Regions from separate parts of the Homo sapiens genome. Here region 2 is linked to region 1. Evidence: promoter capture Hi-C in 16 types of primary human blood cells and fetal thymus (Javierre and others, 2016). All regions are on one chromosome and are shown on one strand. Each heading gives the region's core, a stretch centred on a gene start or on the middle of the fragment in contact. The rest is flanking DNA. Distances are from core to core; before and after follow the strand shown. Region 1 holds the start of XIRP1 (xin actin binding repeat containing 1). Region 2 holds the start of WDR48 (WD repeat domain 48).

What was found. Contacts are between HindIII fragments. The CHiCAGO score rates a contact against its expected background, and 5 or more counts as called.
Region 2: a contact is called between the fragment with the promoter of WDR48 here and a fragment that was not itself captured in region 1, in 1 of 17 cell types (neutrophils). The highest score is 5.4, in neutrophils.

The regions. Positions count from the first base shown.
Region 1 is chr3:39,189,197-39,196,935 of GRCh38, reverse strand. It overlaps XIRP1 (xin actin binding repeat containing 1), which reads left to right and starts at 4,341. Exons shown (of 2, transcript NM_194293.4): 1 at 4,341-4,490; 2 at 7,411-7,739. The coding sequence starts at 7,491. RefSeq lists an enhancer at 4,581-5,570. The HindIII fragment of the contact is 1,708 bases long and covers 4,837-6,544 here.
Region 2 is chr3:39,047,143-39,054,881 of GRCh38, reverse strand. WDR48 (WD repeat domain 48) reads right to left here and starts at 2,866. Exons shown (of 19, transcript NM_020839.4): 1 at 2,809-2,866. The coding sequence starts at 2,856. SCN11A (sodium voltage-gated channel alpha subunit 11) reads left to right here and starts at 2,938. Exons shown (of 30, transcript NM_001349253.2): 1 at 2,938-3,021. RefSeq lists a silencer at 2,663-2,762 and enhancers at 2,803-2,992, 3,013-3,062, 3,073-3,162, 2,833-3,705. The HindIII fragment of the contact is 5,994 bases long and covers 1-4,339 here.

The DNA.
Region 1 (7,739 bases), core at 4,441-6,940:
AGCAGACCCTTCACCTGCAGGCTTGGAACAGAGCCAGCCTGGCTGCCCAAGCTGTCCTCCTGGCACCAGTGCCTGCTTCCCAGCCAGCAGGAAGCCAGGACTGCCAGCCAGTGCCAGGGTAGCCAGGAGTTGCACAGCTATTAAGTGTCACAGGTAGGATTCAGCCTCAAGCAGTCTGGCTCCTATCATTCTCGAATCCTGTCTCTCCTGAAACTTGAAGTGAGTCAACTGCCAGCTACTTACTCGGCTCCTTCATGATTTATGCGTGAATTTCTGCCCAAACCCAACTTTGATGGAGCCCTACTTGGAGGGAGGGGCTGGTAGGAGATGATGCCCTGGACCCTAAAAACCAGTAGGCTCCCAAAGAGAGGACTGCGATAGCTGGAAGGGAACCACCCTTCCCTCATACCCCCTCCCCGAGCACCTCTCTGCCTGTTGGCAAAGATCAGCTGTTCAACCTCAGGATATTTATTTATTTCCAGCCTCGTTCCCAAAATGATTTGAGAGAGCTTAAAGAAATAGATGCACAGTATCTCCACTGTTAAAAAAATGGAGCTCAGACCTGAAGCATCCCTGAGCAGGCAAAACAAGTTAGGTCTCGTAAGGGACCTTACCCTTGCTTGATTTGCAGACATGCAAAACTGGAGCTCTTCCTTTCTTCTTTCCTTCCTTCCTTCCTTCCTTTTTCTTTCTTTTTCCTTCCTTCCTTTCTTCCTTTTCCTTCCTTCCTTCCTTCTTTCCTTCCTTCTTTCTTTTTTCTTTTCTTTTCTTTTTTTTGAGACAGGATCTCACTTTGCCACCTAGCCTGGAATGCAGTGGCATAATCACGGCTCACTGCAGCCTCCACCTTTCTGGCTTAAGCGATTCTCCCACTTCAGCCTCCCAAGTAGCTGGGACAACAATTGCATGCCACCACACTCAGCTAATATTTTCTTTTATTTTTTGTAGAGATGAGGTCTCGCTATGTTGCCCAAGCTGGTCTCCAACTCCTGGGCTCAAGTGATCCTCCCACCTCAGCCTCCCAAAGTGCTCAGATTACAGGTGTGAGTCACCATGCCTGCCTTTGAGCTATTTCTTGTAAATGCCTATATTAAAGAAAAATAAAACTTAAGTGCAACTAATGAGAAGCAGCCAGCACAAATAATTATATAACCAGGGACTTTCCAATGGGATAGATCAAATAAGGCAACTGTATAACTGTAACCAATCAAATATTATATTTGCTTTACTTCTGTATCTGTCTTATAAAAACCTCCCGCTTGTGCTCCCTCAGTAGAGTTCCCAAGCCACTTCTGGTTTGGGACTGCCTGATTCAAAAATTGTTGTTTGCACAAATAAACTCTTAAAAAATTTATTGTGCCTCAGTTTACCTTCTTAATACCACTAAAGATACTCCAGTAAATAATGCCTAGTTTACTATCTTGACAGCCTCATAATTAATACCATGATGATGTGATATCATTAGATCATTACACATAGAGTGACTAGCTTGTCCTGGTTTTGTTAGAACTTTTCCAGTTTTAAAACTGAACATCCCTTGTCTTGCAAAACTCCTCAGAGACAGACAACAAAAAGTTGGTCACCCTCATTACACAGGATTTGGACCATAAAGTCTACTTGCTAGGTTAAAAATTTAGCTCTGAGTTTCCTAGCAGCCAAGTCAAAGAGAAACACCATATGTCATAAAAATTGTTTATTCTATTGACAATTCTCCTTCCAGAAAAATTTATTTTCTTATTTATTTTAACATCTATAACAGCACTATCCGTAGAACTTTCTGAAATAATGCAAACATTCTGCACTATTCAATATAATAGTTTCAGGCTGGGTGCGGTGGCTCATGCCTGTAATCCCAGCACTTTGGGAGGCGGAGGCAGGTGGATCACCTGAGGTCAGGAGTTTGAGACCAGCCTGGGCAACATGGTGAAACCCCATCTCTACTAAAAATACAAAAATTAGCTGGGCACGGTGGCACACACCTGTAATCCCAGCTACTCGGGTGGCTAAGGCAGTAGAATCGCTTGAACCCGGGAGGTGGAGGTTGCAGTGAGCCGAGATCGCGCCACTGCACTCCAGCCTGGGCGACAGAGCGAAACTCCGTCTCAAAAACAAACAAGCAAACAAAATCAATATAATAGTTGCTAGCCACTTGTCTCTATGGAGCACTTCAAATATGGCTAGTGTAGTGAAATAACTGAGTTTTTATTTTATTTCATTTTAATGTACTTAAATTTAAATAGCCTCATTTGGCTAGTGGCAACTCTATTGGACAGCACAGCTGTACTAGATACAAAGAAACCAAGTGCTCAGGAAGAGCCTCTTTCCTAATATTGAGGCCTGAGGAATTTCTCCCATGAGTTATCACAGGAGGTGAGTACAAAAGTGAGTTCCACCTAGGGGCTTTTCTCTTTTTATATTATATACAGTATAATAGCTGGCTCTTCTAAAGCATAGGCTATGTGCTAAGTACTCTCAGGCACTTTTTTTTTTTTTTGAGACAGAGTCTTGCTCTATCGCCCAGGCTGGAGTGCAGGGGTGCGATCCCAGCTCACTGCATCTTCTGCCTCCCAGATTCAATTTTCCTGCCTCAGCCTCCCAAGTAGTTGGGATTACAGGTGTGTGCCACCACACCCAGCTAATTTTTTATATTTTTAGTAGAGACAAGGTTTCACCATGTTGGTCAGGCTGGTCTCGAACTCCTGACCTCAAGTGATCCACCAGCCTCAGCCTGCCGAAATGTGCTGAGATTACAGGCGTGAGCCACCGTGCCTGGCTGGAGGCACTCTTTTCATATAATAATTCCTTCAATTCTCAAAACTATCCTAGAAAGTAAGAAATTTCAGTACCCACAGGGAGAAAGCTCCTCCCAGGAGAAATCCTGAGAAACCTAAGGCTGCCCTTTCCCTGAAACACTGGTACATCGGTCTCCCTGCCCTTCCTAGAGAGAGCCAGGAGCCTGGGGGACAGGCAGAGGGCTAGAAAAGAGCAGGGGAAGAGACAAGAGGGAGGGAGACCAGGAAGAGGGGGTTCCCAGATGTCCTTACCCCCATCCCAGCTGACGCTGCAGGACTGACATTGACTACATGGAAAAAGTGAGCAATGTCTGGCATCACCCCCTGGTACCAGAGGGCATTTGGGGAGTCAGAAGGAAGACCTCATGTGCCAGGCCACAGAATGCACCTGCATACCCACAGGCATGGAGCCTGGGCCAGGCCCACCTAGGACAAAACACCTCTTTCGAGTTTTTTGCAGATGGTCCCCTGACATCCTTCACCACACTGGTCTGACTGCCAGGATCTCTTGGGCCTCCTGGGCCCCTCACGCCCTGGTAAGCAAAGGAGGAGGCAGGTGTGACCCCCCCACCCCCGCCGCCACTCCATCTGTGACTGGGAAGCTGATGACTCCAGGGTCAGAAATAACCCCACGGTCAGCTCCCTGCATGCCGCCCTTCCCCTCCCCTCCATTCCCAGAAAGCCTGGGCCCTGAGTCAGAGGGAAGAGTCGAGAAGAAAGGACTCAGATAATCTGGAATGAAAACCATAGAGTCCTGCTGTGGAATTCATTCATTGGGAGGCCGAGGCAGGTGGATTACCTGAGGTCAGGAGTTCGAGACCAGCCTGGCCAACATGGTGAAACCCCATCTCTACTAAAAATACAAAAATTAACTGGGTGTAGTGGTGCAAAGGAGGAGCTGGGCCTGGCCAATCTCGGCCCAGTGAAGAGCTGGGCCTGGTCATTCAGATGTCTTCCCCCCAAATCCAGCTTCATCGGGGCTGTGTTGACCTGTGCTGTGGGGCACAGGGTGGAATGGATAAGAAAGAAGGAACTCTTTAGTGCAGAAGGGAATGGGGAAGAAAGAGAGCTGAGCATCACACTCAGAGGTATCCAGGCTCAGAACAGAGGAGGAGGTGCCCAGCCTGCCCTCAGGAGACCTCCAGTCTCCTGGCACGGTGGGTGGAGACACGTCAGGAAGAGTCAGAGGCAGGGCCAGAGTAGAATGATGGGGGCTCACAAGACGGGAGCAAGCTGTCCAAGGTGTCAGATGCCTCTTCTTAGTCACTCTCTCAAAATAGTCTGGGACACCCCCAACCTCACAACCCAGCTGAGTCACTGACCCCAATCCCCAGATCAGACTTTGGATGAATGAAGCTTCTCCCCCTCTGTTTCCCCTCCCCAGCCCAAAGGACATGTAACTGATTCCCCAGGATGGAAGAGTGACTTCCACAAGACCTAAAAATAACCGAACCACTTAATACTCGGAACATAGCCTCTCCCACCCGCCCCCACCACGGCCCACCCACTAGCCAGCAAGATAAAGGCAGCTGCTGGGGCTGGCAGGGGACAGAGACCTGGAGCCAGGGCAGCAAGAAGGTGTCTGTTGGAGCCAGCAGAACAGAACCAATTTGAACAAGAACCTCCAGAGGAACGACGAACCCTGAGACCACAGCTGCTACAGACCACAAACACCCCATCAGCCAAGAGAGACCCTTGGTGAGTAACCTACCTCTCCATCCTTCCACAGCAAGGCTGGCTTTCACAGCTGGGATCCCCTCTCCTTCTGAAATGGACGTATTAGGAATGGCTCTGAGTAGGGGAAGGAGATTGAGGGGCATGCATGGGAGGAGGTGAGTGGAAGTCTCAGACATAAAGAACCCACAAAGGAGGTAAAGACAGTGTGAGCCCCATGGGAGCTCTCAGAGTGGCTGCCACAGGCCTGAAGCTAGCAGAAAGGATAGGCTCCTGCCAGGCTGGCATGATCCAGAAAGGCCTGGAGTTGTGATTTTTAAAATACAGGTATGGAGTGCCTCAGGCTTCAGGGCTTCCTCCCAGGGAAGCTTCAGGCAGGCCCAGGATCTGGAGGAAGGAGGAACAGGAGAGAGGTGGGGGCAGGGGGCTGTAAGTAGGCCTGAGTGTGCATTGCTAGAACAAGCCCCATGCCTAGTTGTTGTGGATGACACTCTTGGCATATCTGGCCCAGGGATAGCTCCCAGGGGCTGGCCGGAGCCCAGCTCCCTACATATCATAGCCTAAAACCTGGGGTGGAATTCGGACTCTGCCCATGTCCATAGTCTTGCCCAGTGGGAAAGCCCCCAGGGCAGATTTGGGGGGCTCACGGGAGGGAGACCAGATCTGAATTTGCCCAGATGTAAAGACATATGGAGCCAGCTGGGCCAAGGAGGAGGTGACCCGAGGACAGCAGGGGGACCATCCTGAGAGGCTGGCCCAGCCCTAGGAGACCAAGCTCTAGGACAGTTCTTGGGGCTCACCCCACGTAAGTCTGGTCCCAGTTATGAATTCTGTCCTGACTCTACACTTGTCCCAGCAGTCTCAAGCCAGGCAAAGATGGTGGTGGGAAGGCCAGGAGTCAGGAGACATGCTTCAGGCTTTGCTACTGCCTTGCTGAGCCTCCTTGGACAGCTCCTTTCCCCTCTTTGGGCCTCTGTTTCCCTATTTGAACAATAAGGGGTTTAGATTGAGTGACCTCTGAGGGTCCTTAGGCCTGACATCCCTGGACTCCATGATAATAACTGTCTGTGGCCTTAGCAGAGATTCTGGAAATTCCTGGGGGCGGGGGTGGGGTGAAGCTGATGGTGTGCACACACCATCTGCTCAGGCCACCCTGGTGGTGACAGGATGGAGTAGAGGTGGAGACAGGCTCAGGTTTGCCTTGGGCAGGGGATCCTCATTGGAGCTCAGAAATGAAAGAAAACCACCCAGAGCTTTGATGAGACTCAGGCTGCAGGTTTCAGAGCTCACATTCCCCAAAGGTTCTGATGTCTTTGGTGGACATGCCAGGGTGGGCATGGGGTCAGCAGGTCTCAGTTTCCTCTCTCCTCCTTCTGAGGTAGCCATAGGGAGGAAGTCCTGCCCCACTTACTTCCAGTACCTCCCCCCAGTGCAGACTCCTTTGGCCAGGGAAGGTGTCCAGGTTCTAGCACCTGGCTGGCCTGCAGCCCAGGGGCCTGACACCAGCCCAGGAGGCAGGATAGGGGAGCCCAGGCTAATGAAGGAGATGAGGTGAGCCAAGGGTACTGAGGGTCCCCACTGGCTGGGCCTCAGCCTCCCTCTGAGCCCAGGGCTGCTGTTCTGAGGCCAGGACCTCAGCTATATTTAGCACCCTGTGTGGTGCAGAGCAGTGGGTCAGGGGCAGCAGGAGGGGGCACGTGCTTCCCATTCTTTCCCTACTGGCCTCTGGGGACTGTTAGTACACCTGTCACAAGAGAGATAAGACATACATGGACAGAGACCAGAGAAGGGCTTGAGGGGTGGTAGGTCATTGAGGGGCGGGGGTGTAGCCGGGGAGAGGCTGAGCTGGGGTGGCCATGAGGCCTGCAGGGGTAGGGCTTAGCCTGAAGCCCCCCTGAGTCCGAGCCCCTGAAGCTGTGCTTGCTTGCTTAGAGAGCGGTATCCAGGAGCAAGAGGCAGGGCTGTCTCTGCAGAAAGGACCCTGATCCCATGGTCCTCTCCCTGGTTGTTGTCACCCTCATATCCTCCCAGGGGTGCCTGCTGGGGAATAGACGGGTTCTATGGCCAATAAGAAAGCTTTACACCTGCTACCCTCTTATTTCTTGGGGCCATGCCCTAAATGGAGTCTAGGGACCCCAAGCCAGCACGGCCTTCCATTTATTCACCAAGATCTGACTCTGGGCCTAAGTTCCCTCATCTTTATTTATAAATGATTGTGCTAAAAGACCTTTGAGATCCCCCTAGCTCAGACATTCTCAGTCTTCGAGTATAATGCAGAAAACCCTGACCAGATATTCAGAATTTGGATCTGGCCTAAGCACGAGATATCTGATGAGCAGCTTCCCAGCCCTGATTCTCAACTGCTTCCGCTCTAGCATGGGCTGTTGGCCTCTGCTTGCCTCCTTGGGCCTGGGAAAGGTTGGAGTGCGTTGACAGCCAAGAGGTAAAAGTTAGGCAGCGTTCCAGGTCAACATGGCAAGTCTGCCCTCTGGTGTTCTGCAAAGGAATCTCGTCTCCATAGGAAATCAGTCACCAGTTTAGAGACCTGCCTCTCCAAGGCTGGGACTCCAAAAGTCAGGATTCCCCCAGGCCACTCCCCTGGCAGTCTTCCAGGGAAACACTGATTTTTAACAAAGGAAGGTGAGGATGGGGCATGTCCAGTTTGCCCACTGGAGGTTTATGCGTCCCTTATGGAGCTAAAGGAAAGTGTCTCATGTCCAGTGGTACCATGGTCACTCCCTAGCAACGCATGAGATGTAGGGAAAGCAGGAACCCACTATGATTAATGGGTCCATGTCCTAAGTTCAAGACCTGTTGCCCACGAACCATGCAGGCAGCGAAGTGAAGCCCAGGCCAGGCACATAGAGAGAGGGAAGGAGTCTCTAAGCGTAAGTCACCCAGAGCTACTCTGACTCTGAGCCCTGTTTACTACCATTTCTCCCAGCATCCAGCCTCTACCCTGCTGAACATCTAGATCTAAGGCTCCCAATCCCATCCTCATCTCTGCCCCTTCTTCTCAGAAGGATGGCCGACACCCAGACACAGGTGGCCCCCACACCAACCATGAGGATGGCAACTGCAGAGGACCTGCCCCTCCCTCCACCCCCAGCCCTGGAGGACCTGCCACTGCCGCCACCCAAGGAATCCTTCTCCAAGTTCCATCAGCAGCGGCAAGCTAGTGAGCTCCGCCGCCTCTACAGGCACATCCACCCTGAGCTCCGCAAGAATCTGGCTGAGGCTGTGGCCGAGGATCTGGCTGAGGTCCTGGGCTCT
Region 2 (7,739 bases), core at 1,617-4,116, 140 kb after region 1:
CATATTTCCTTTGTGGAAATGGGAATATGCCATGTTGACTTGCTTTTTTGACTCTCTCTCTCTTTGAGGCCTCCCTGGAAGACGAGCAGATCCTAGCACCATATTTCCTGTAAAGCCTGCAGAACTATGAGCCAATTATGCCTCTTTTCTTTATAAATGAGCCAGTCTCAGGTATTTCTTTATAGCAATTCAAGAATGGCTTCACACAACACCCTTGCATAAGTAGGGACAGATACATGCATATGCAATTTTGTAGAATATATTTTTAGATAAGGAATTCTGGGCTAAAGGGAATGTTTATTTAAAAATTTGACAAAGCAAGACACAAAACAGTGAATACTATGGCTCCATTTATAGCAAAAAAATATGTTAAGTCAGGTACACAAACAGCAAGAGGTATAGAACAGCGGTTCTCAACCAGCGGCAATTTTGCCCTTGAGGGGACATTTGAAAATGTCTGGAGACATTTTTAGTTGTCACAACTGGGGAGATGCTACTACATCTAGTTGGTAGAAGCCAGGGATGATGCCAAAGAACCTGTGATGCATAGGACAGCTCCCTCCCTCAGACACAGCGAAGAATTATCCAGATGAAATTTCAAGAATGTTCAGGTTGATAAACTCTGGTCTAGGATTAAAACATGACATTGCCCGCAGTAGCTTTCTTGGAAGCATGGAGGGCAACTCTAATTTATGTTTTTGTTTGTTGGGATTTTTACAATGAACACGCATTAGTTTAAAAAACACCTCATAGACAATGATGGTTCAGATGAAATCAATCCCTGTGGCTTCTCAGGCTGCTTCTATACCTTAGGGACAAATTCCGAAAGTTCCCTGAATCTTCTCTTCAGCAGGTTAATCTAAGACAGCTCTTTCAAAAGTTCTTCATAGGAAATAATTTCAAGTCAGTTCACCAATCTGATTGCTACCTATGAAGAACAAGGTCCTAAGTGCTGAACACCAAACTCTAATTTTGTACTTTGACCAGTGAAAAGTGGAATTATCTATCACCTGCCTCATTCTACGTGCACTGGCTCACATTCAGCCTATTGGAACACTGTTTTTCCAAACCTGCTGCAGTTAATTTACATTTTCTCCATCCCATACTAGTACAATTGCCTTGTAAGTCTTTTTAAAATATATATACTTTATTGCATGCATTTTGGGAGTGGGCAGGCCTGGGAAGGAAGCAAGCAGGGAACACACTGCAGTAATAGGAGTTTTAAGTCTTAATGCAATAAACTGAAAGGCCTGATTAACTACCCTTACTCTCCTAAGATGTACACCACCATAGAGTCTATAATACAATCGGGTTACTTTTTGAGTTATATTTCAGTCCCAAGGAGACATTCTCACTACCTGCCTTGGATGCTGGTGATACTTAAATCCTATCACTAATGCACTGAAAAACACCTAATAGGGTGAGTTTAGACTTATTAATTTCACTCATTTCAACAAACATCCAGTGAGTGCTTAAGACACTGTACTGATCAGTGAGATCAATAAAACCAAGATGTGAACTAATCAGAAGACTTTATGGCCTACCACCTTCTGCTGGGATTACCTTACTGAAGGACCCCTTCATCTAACTACCTTTATCTGACACTTGATTTCAACCCGCAGAACTCCATATAATGCTGTGTTTTATAAAGAAAGCCTAGGTGTTAATTATTTCTACACCCTTTCAATCCCTTTTCCCCTTTGGGGGCCACCCTAAGTGCTAGGTAAATGTTTAATGAATAAATGCACCAAACTGCCACTACCACATACAATATACCTGCAGGCAAACACCTGTAAGAGGGCTTTTATTCCCTGCATCACTGAAAATATTAAGTGGCAATAACTATTTTTTAATATTATTATTATACTTTAAGTTCTAGGATATATGTGCACAACGTGCAGGTTTGTTACATAGGTATACGTGTGCCATGCTGGTTTGCTGTACCCATCAACTCGTCATTTACATTAGGTATTTCTCCTAATGCTATCCCTCCCCTAGCGCCCCCAGCCCCCGACAGGCCCCGGTGTGTGATGTTCCCCGAAGTGGCAGTAACTCTTAAGCGTAACCGCAAACAAAAGTGAATTCACAAAGGCATAAGGCACAAGACACACACGGTAAGATTAGACAACTCTTTACCACATGGACAATAAATTACACAAACAATAAAGACAGATTCAGCGATGCACACTTAAGATGAAGAAATGGTGAAGAGGAACTTAAATACCAAAACAATTAAAATTATAATTTCCCCACGCACATTCTTATGTCACTTAAACCTACCCAGGGGACAGCTCCCACATAAGAGAGGGCTGGGGGCTCCCAAGTGCGGAATCCTCAGCAGAAACCCCGCAGGGCCGTTGGCGCTCCGCCGCCTCGCCACGCCCCCGCACAAGCCGCTCACTCCTCCAACGCCCACCCCCCTGGGAAACCCCTGGAGGCCTCGGCTCCGACGCAGCGAGGGCAGAGCGCTTCGAAGAAAGACAGGGCAAGGGGGAGGCAAGTGGGCGGGGAACGAGCCTATCCCGACCCCGCAAGTCCACTCCTACAGAAGAGCGGCGACAAGCAATCCCGGGCTCAGAATGCCGCCCACGAGGGTCCCGGGCCTGGGCCCCAAGGGCCAAGCAAGCCGACCCCCGCCCCTTCCTCAAGCCGTTAGCGCCGCGGCCCCACCCCTCGTGGCCGGCCGCGCCCCGCCCCGTTCGCCCCATGCCGCTACCCCAGCTGGTCGTGGCGCCGGGCACCTTCTAGCTGGAGTGGGCCCGGAGCTGCCGGCCGCGTCCGGAAGACCGAGGAACCGGGCTTCCATACCTGCACTTTCCTCCGCCCTGCTGTGTTCTGCCGGTGATGGGCCGCCATCTTGCATGTTGACACTCCGACGTCACTTCCGGAGGTGGCTCAGAGCGGGAGGATGTCCTGCCCCTTTCCCTTTGGCCAAGGGTTAGTGGCGGGGCTGAAGGTAAACAGGCTGTTGTGTTTCCTCGGTGCTGTTAGTTGCTGTGTGGCCGGTAGCCATGTGATGAGGTAGATGCACCTAAAAACAAAACCACTGTGCAAGTATAATGCTGATGGGGAGAGAGCCACTTTTCAGGGCTGAGGGAGCAACACGAATTCACTTGTGTGGTCCTAGACCCTGGCTTGCGCTCTTTTCCGCGCCCTCCCCGAGAGGCCCAAGCAAAACGAAAGCACTGAAAGAATTAACAGTGCTAGACATGGCGCTGGACCATCTCCTGACCTTTCCTAGGCAGGCAGGAGAACCAAGTGAACCAAGTGATTTACTGTTAAGTACCTAAAAATGCGGAGAATTATGTCGTGGCCTCAAAGGGGGAGAGATAGAAGTCCTTGCAAAGGAGGTGGCCTCCATCTTCAGGGGGAGCAAAGAATCCGTTTAAATTAAAAGGATAAAAAGTGGGGCCATAAAAGAACGAGATCATGTCCTTTGTAGGGACATGATGGAGCTGGAGGCCCTTATCCTTAAGCAAACTAACAAAGGAACAGAAAACCAAATACCGCACGTTCTCACTTATAAGTGGGAGCTAAATGATGAGAACACATGGACACAAAAGAGGGGGACAACACACACTGGGGCCTTTCGGAGGGTGGAGGGTGGGAGGAGGGCGAGGATCAGGAAAAATAACTAATGGGTACTAGGCTTAATACCTGGGTGACAAAATAGCCTGTACAACAAACACCCGTGACACAAGTTTACCTATATAACAAACCTGCACTTGTACCCCTGAACTTAAAAGTTTAAAAAAAAAAAACAAGACAAAAAGATGTTATAGGAAGGCGAAAACGGTACACCAGCTAAAATTGTTCCCAGAGACAATTCTAGTTTAAATCATCTCTTATACTGGAACAGTTAGGTTTGACTTAAGGTGGTTTTCCTGACCACTAATTATAAGAGCTGAGGGTGATCAGACCCTCTCTAGTGAAAGTGAATCCTATAGAACTACACTGTGGGATATAGCATATGATGTATCTGCTAGTCATTTGTGGCTCTTGAGCACTTGAAATATAGCTAGTTCCAGTTGAGATATGTAATTGTAAACTACCCCCAAATTTCAAAGACTAGTTTGAAGAAAAGAATGTAAAATATCTCATTAATAATTTTTTGTATTGATTTCATGTTGAAATGATGTTTGGGGGTATATTAGGCTAAATAAAATTTATTAATTTTGTCATGGATATTAGAATATTTAAAATTACATATGTGGTCACAAATTTCTGTTGCATAGTGCTAGTATATAAGTAATGCTTAGAAAAGTTGTCTTGACAAATACTTCTTAAATTAATAAAGAAATGTGAATTAGATGAGTAAAAATTGTGATGGCAGAAAGCTTCTTAAGCAAAACTGGCAGTGATAACTTATAGGTAAATTACTGCATCATTACAGGCTTATTCATTCACTGATTCATGTATTCATTCATTTAACAAAATATTATTTAGCATATCATATATGCCAGGCACTATATTAGGTGTTGGGGAATCAGTGGTGAGTGCACATAGTCATAGAACTTAGAGTCCCAGGATGAGACAGGAATTAATACAGAGATAAGTACTATGAAGAAAGATGATTGTAAGACAGGAAGTATCTTGAGTCAAGAGTTAACTAGGCAAGGAGAGGGAACAGTCTGAGCAAAGGTCTTGTAGCAGGAGAGAGCATGGAACATTACAGGAACTGAGAGTCAAGGCTTAGAGTACAGAGAAGTGAAAGGAGTATGCAGAGGCCATACCCAGCAGGATCTTTTAGACCAATGGGAAGCTGTTGAAATACAGGTAGGGAAATAATATGTCTGTATTTTAAAAATTGCTTAAGTGTCTATTGAGCACCTATGATGTGCAAAATACAATACAGGTATGTTGCTCTGGACAATATACTGGTACTTGCTAGAAATTGATATGTTGTAGTCCTGCTTTGGACCTGAAAAATATTGAAATAGTGAAGTTCTTTCAGTGGGCAGAATTTTCACCAGTATGTTTTGATGTTCAGTTTGGCTGAAAGGAGAAATGGTCAATTCAGGGTCAGAGGATAATTTTTTGGCCAGTTTGTGAAGGACATGGAAAGAGCAAGACTGGAGAACTAGTGACAAGGAAGACTCCAGAAGGGATATAGTGATGGACCTCTCAGAATAAATCTTAAGAATCATATGGATGAAATGAACTGCTTTGTGATGAAACTCAGCCTCACTGCCTGCTCAGTAGAATCATGAAATAAATGGCAATGGCAATGGCAACAGGATTGGAGCTATGCATGGGATCACCAAGCCACCGCTGGGTGTTCAGAAGCAGTGACCAATACCCCATGCTCTGGGAGGGTCAGCCAGTCACATGTAGGCAAGTCTATTCCATTGGTCATTGGCCCTCCCCATCATTGAGGGAGTTCTTATTTGTCCTCTCTAAAATATGTTTATTCTAGATTGAGATTTGCTTTCCCTGCTCACTGTACTTCCGCTGACACCACCATCTAGGGAATTACTCAGTGCTTTAGACACTATCATTTTCTCTAACACTATATTGCTTTTGACCAAGAAATTCACTCTGCAATGAAAGAAGTAATGCAATGGGCTATTGCCCATGGAATTTATTGGTCTAATTGTGTACTCAATCACTGAGAAGTATCTTGTCTTATTGAAGATATATTGAAGACTTAGCTATGGTGCCTTCTGGGAGATAACCCTTTTTGATACTGTCCTGTAGGATGCAGTATATGCTCTGAACTACTGTCCAATATTCAGCACTCTTTTTTCCTGTTCCTTTTATCTATTGCTGTTTAACCATCTGCAAAATGCAATGGTTTAAAACAATTACAACCCTTACTTTACTTACAAATCTGTAATTTATGCAGAGCTTCATGGGAACAGATTGTCTCTGTTCCACTATCCACTTCACATCAGCTGGGGCAGCTAAAAGATTGGGGCTGGAATCATCTGAAGACCCCTTCTCTCACATGTCTGGTGACTGATACTGGTGTTGGCCTAGTCCTTAGCCAAAGCTGTGGCTAGAACACCTTCTCATGATCTTTCCACAGCACTATTTGGTTCCTCACAATATGCTAACTGGGTTCCAAGGATGAGCATCCCGAAGAAGAAAAATCTGGTTGAAAGCTATAATGCTTTTTCTAAACTCACAGTGGAAGTCATGCAGTGTCACTTTAAGCCATAGTCAATTCATTAGAACTTAGTTACTAAGGCCATCAGTGTCTAAGGAGAGGGGATTAGATGACTCCTTTTTTTATGAAGTATCAATAAATTTGTGGATGTATTTTTTAATTGACACATAATAATTGTACATATATATGGGGTACAGTGTGATATTTTGATACCTGTATACAATCTGTAATAATTGCTTTGGGAAAATTCAATATCCACTCTTTTAGCTATTTGAAAATATGGAATAAATTATTGTTAATCATAGTCATCCTACAGTGATATAGAACACCAAAAATTATTCCTTCTACCTAGCTGTAATTTTATATGTGTTAACCAACCTCTCTATATATAATCCTCTCCTTTACCCTTCTCAGCCACTAGTTACCACTATTCTGTTCTCTACTTCTCTGAGATCAACTTATTTCTCTTTCACATATTGGTGAGAACATGCAGTATTTATCTTTCTGTGCCTGGCTTATTTCACTTAAGATAATGACCTCCGGTGCTATCCATGTTGCTGCAAATGACATAATTTTATTCTTTTTTATGATTGAATAGTATTTCATTGCATATATGTACCACATTTTCTTTATCCATTCTTCTTTTGATGGACACTTAGGTTAACTCCGTATCTTGGCCACTGTGAATAGTGCTGCAGTAACTGTGGGAGGACAGGTATCTCTTTGACATACTGATTTCCTGTTCTTTGGGTAGTAGTGGGATTGCTGGATCATATGGTAGTTGTAGTTTTAGTTCTTTGAGAAATCTACACACTGTTTTCCATAATGGTTGAACTAATTTACATTCCTATCAACAGTGTATGAATTCCCTTTTCTCTGCATCCTCACCCTCTGCATTTGTTTTTGTCTTTTTCGTATAGCGATTCTAACTGGAGTGAGATAATATCTCACTGTGGTTTTGATTTGTATTTCCCTGATGATTAGTGATGTTGAGCATTTTTTTCATGTATTTGTTGGCTATTTATATGTCTTCTTTTGAAAAATGTGTATTCAGATCATTTGCCCATTTAAAAATTATTTGGGTTTTTTTTGCTATTGAGTTGTTTGAGTTTTTTATACTTCCTGGATATTAATTCCTTGTTGGATGAATACTTTGCAAATATTTTCTCTCATTCTGTAGGCTGTCTCATTCCTCTATTGATTGTTTCCTTTTCTGTGCAGAAGCTTTTTAGTTTGATGTAATCCAATTTGTCTATATTTGGTTTTGTTGCCTGTGCTTTTGAGGGCTTATCCATAAAATCTTTGCCCAGGCCAATGTCCTGAAGCATTTCTCCTGTATTATCTTTTAGTAGTTTCATAGTTTTGGGTTTTATATTTAGGTTTTTAATCCATTTCGTGTTGATTTTTGTATAGGGTGAGACGTAGGGAGTCTAGTTTCTTTCCTTTTCATATAGGGGGTCAGTTTTCCCAGCACCATTTATTGAACAGGCTGTTCTTTTCCCAATATGTTATAGGGCCTTTGTTAAAAATCAGTTAATTGCCAGGCATGGTGGTACATGCCTGTAGTCCCAGCTACTTGGAAGGCTGATATATGAGGATTGCTTAAGCCCAGGAGTTTGAGGCCTGCAGT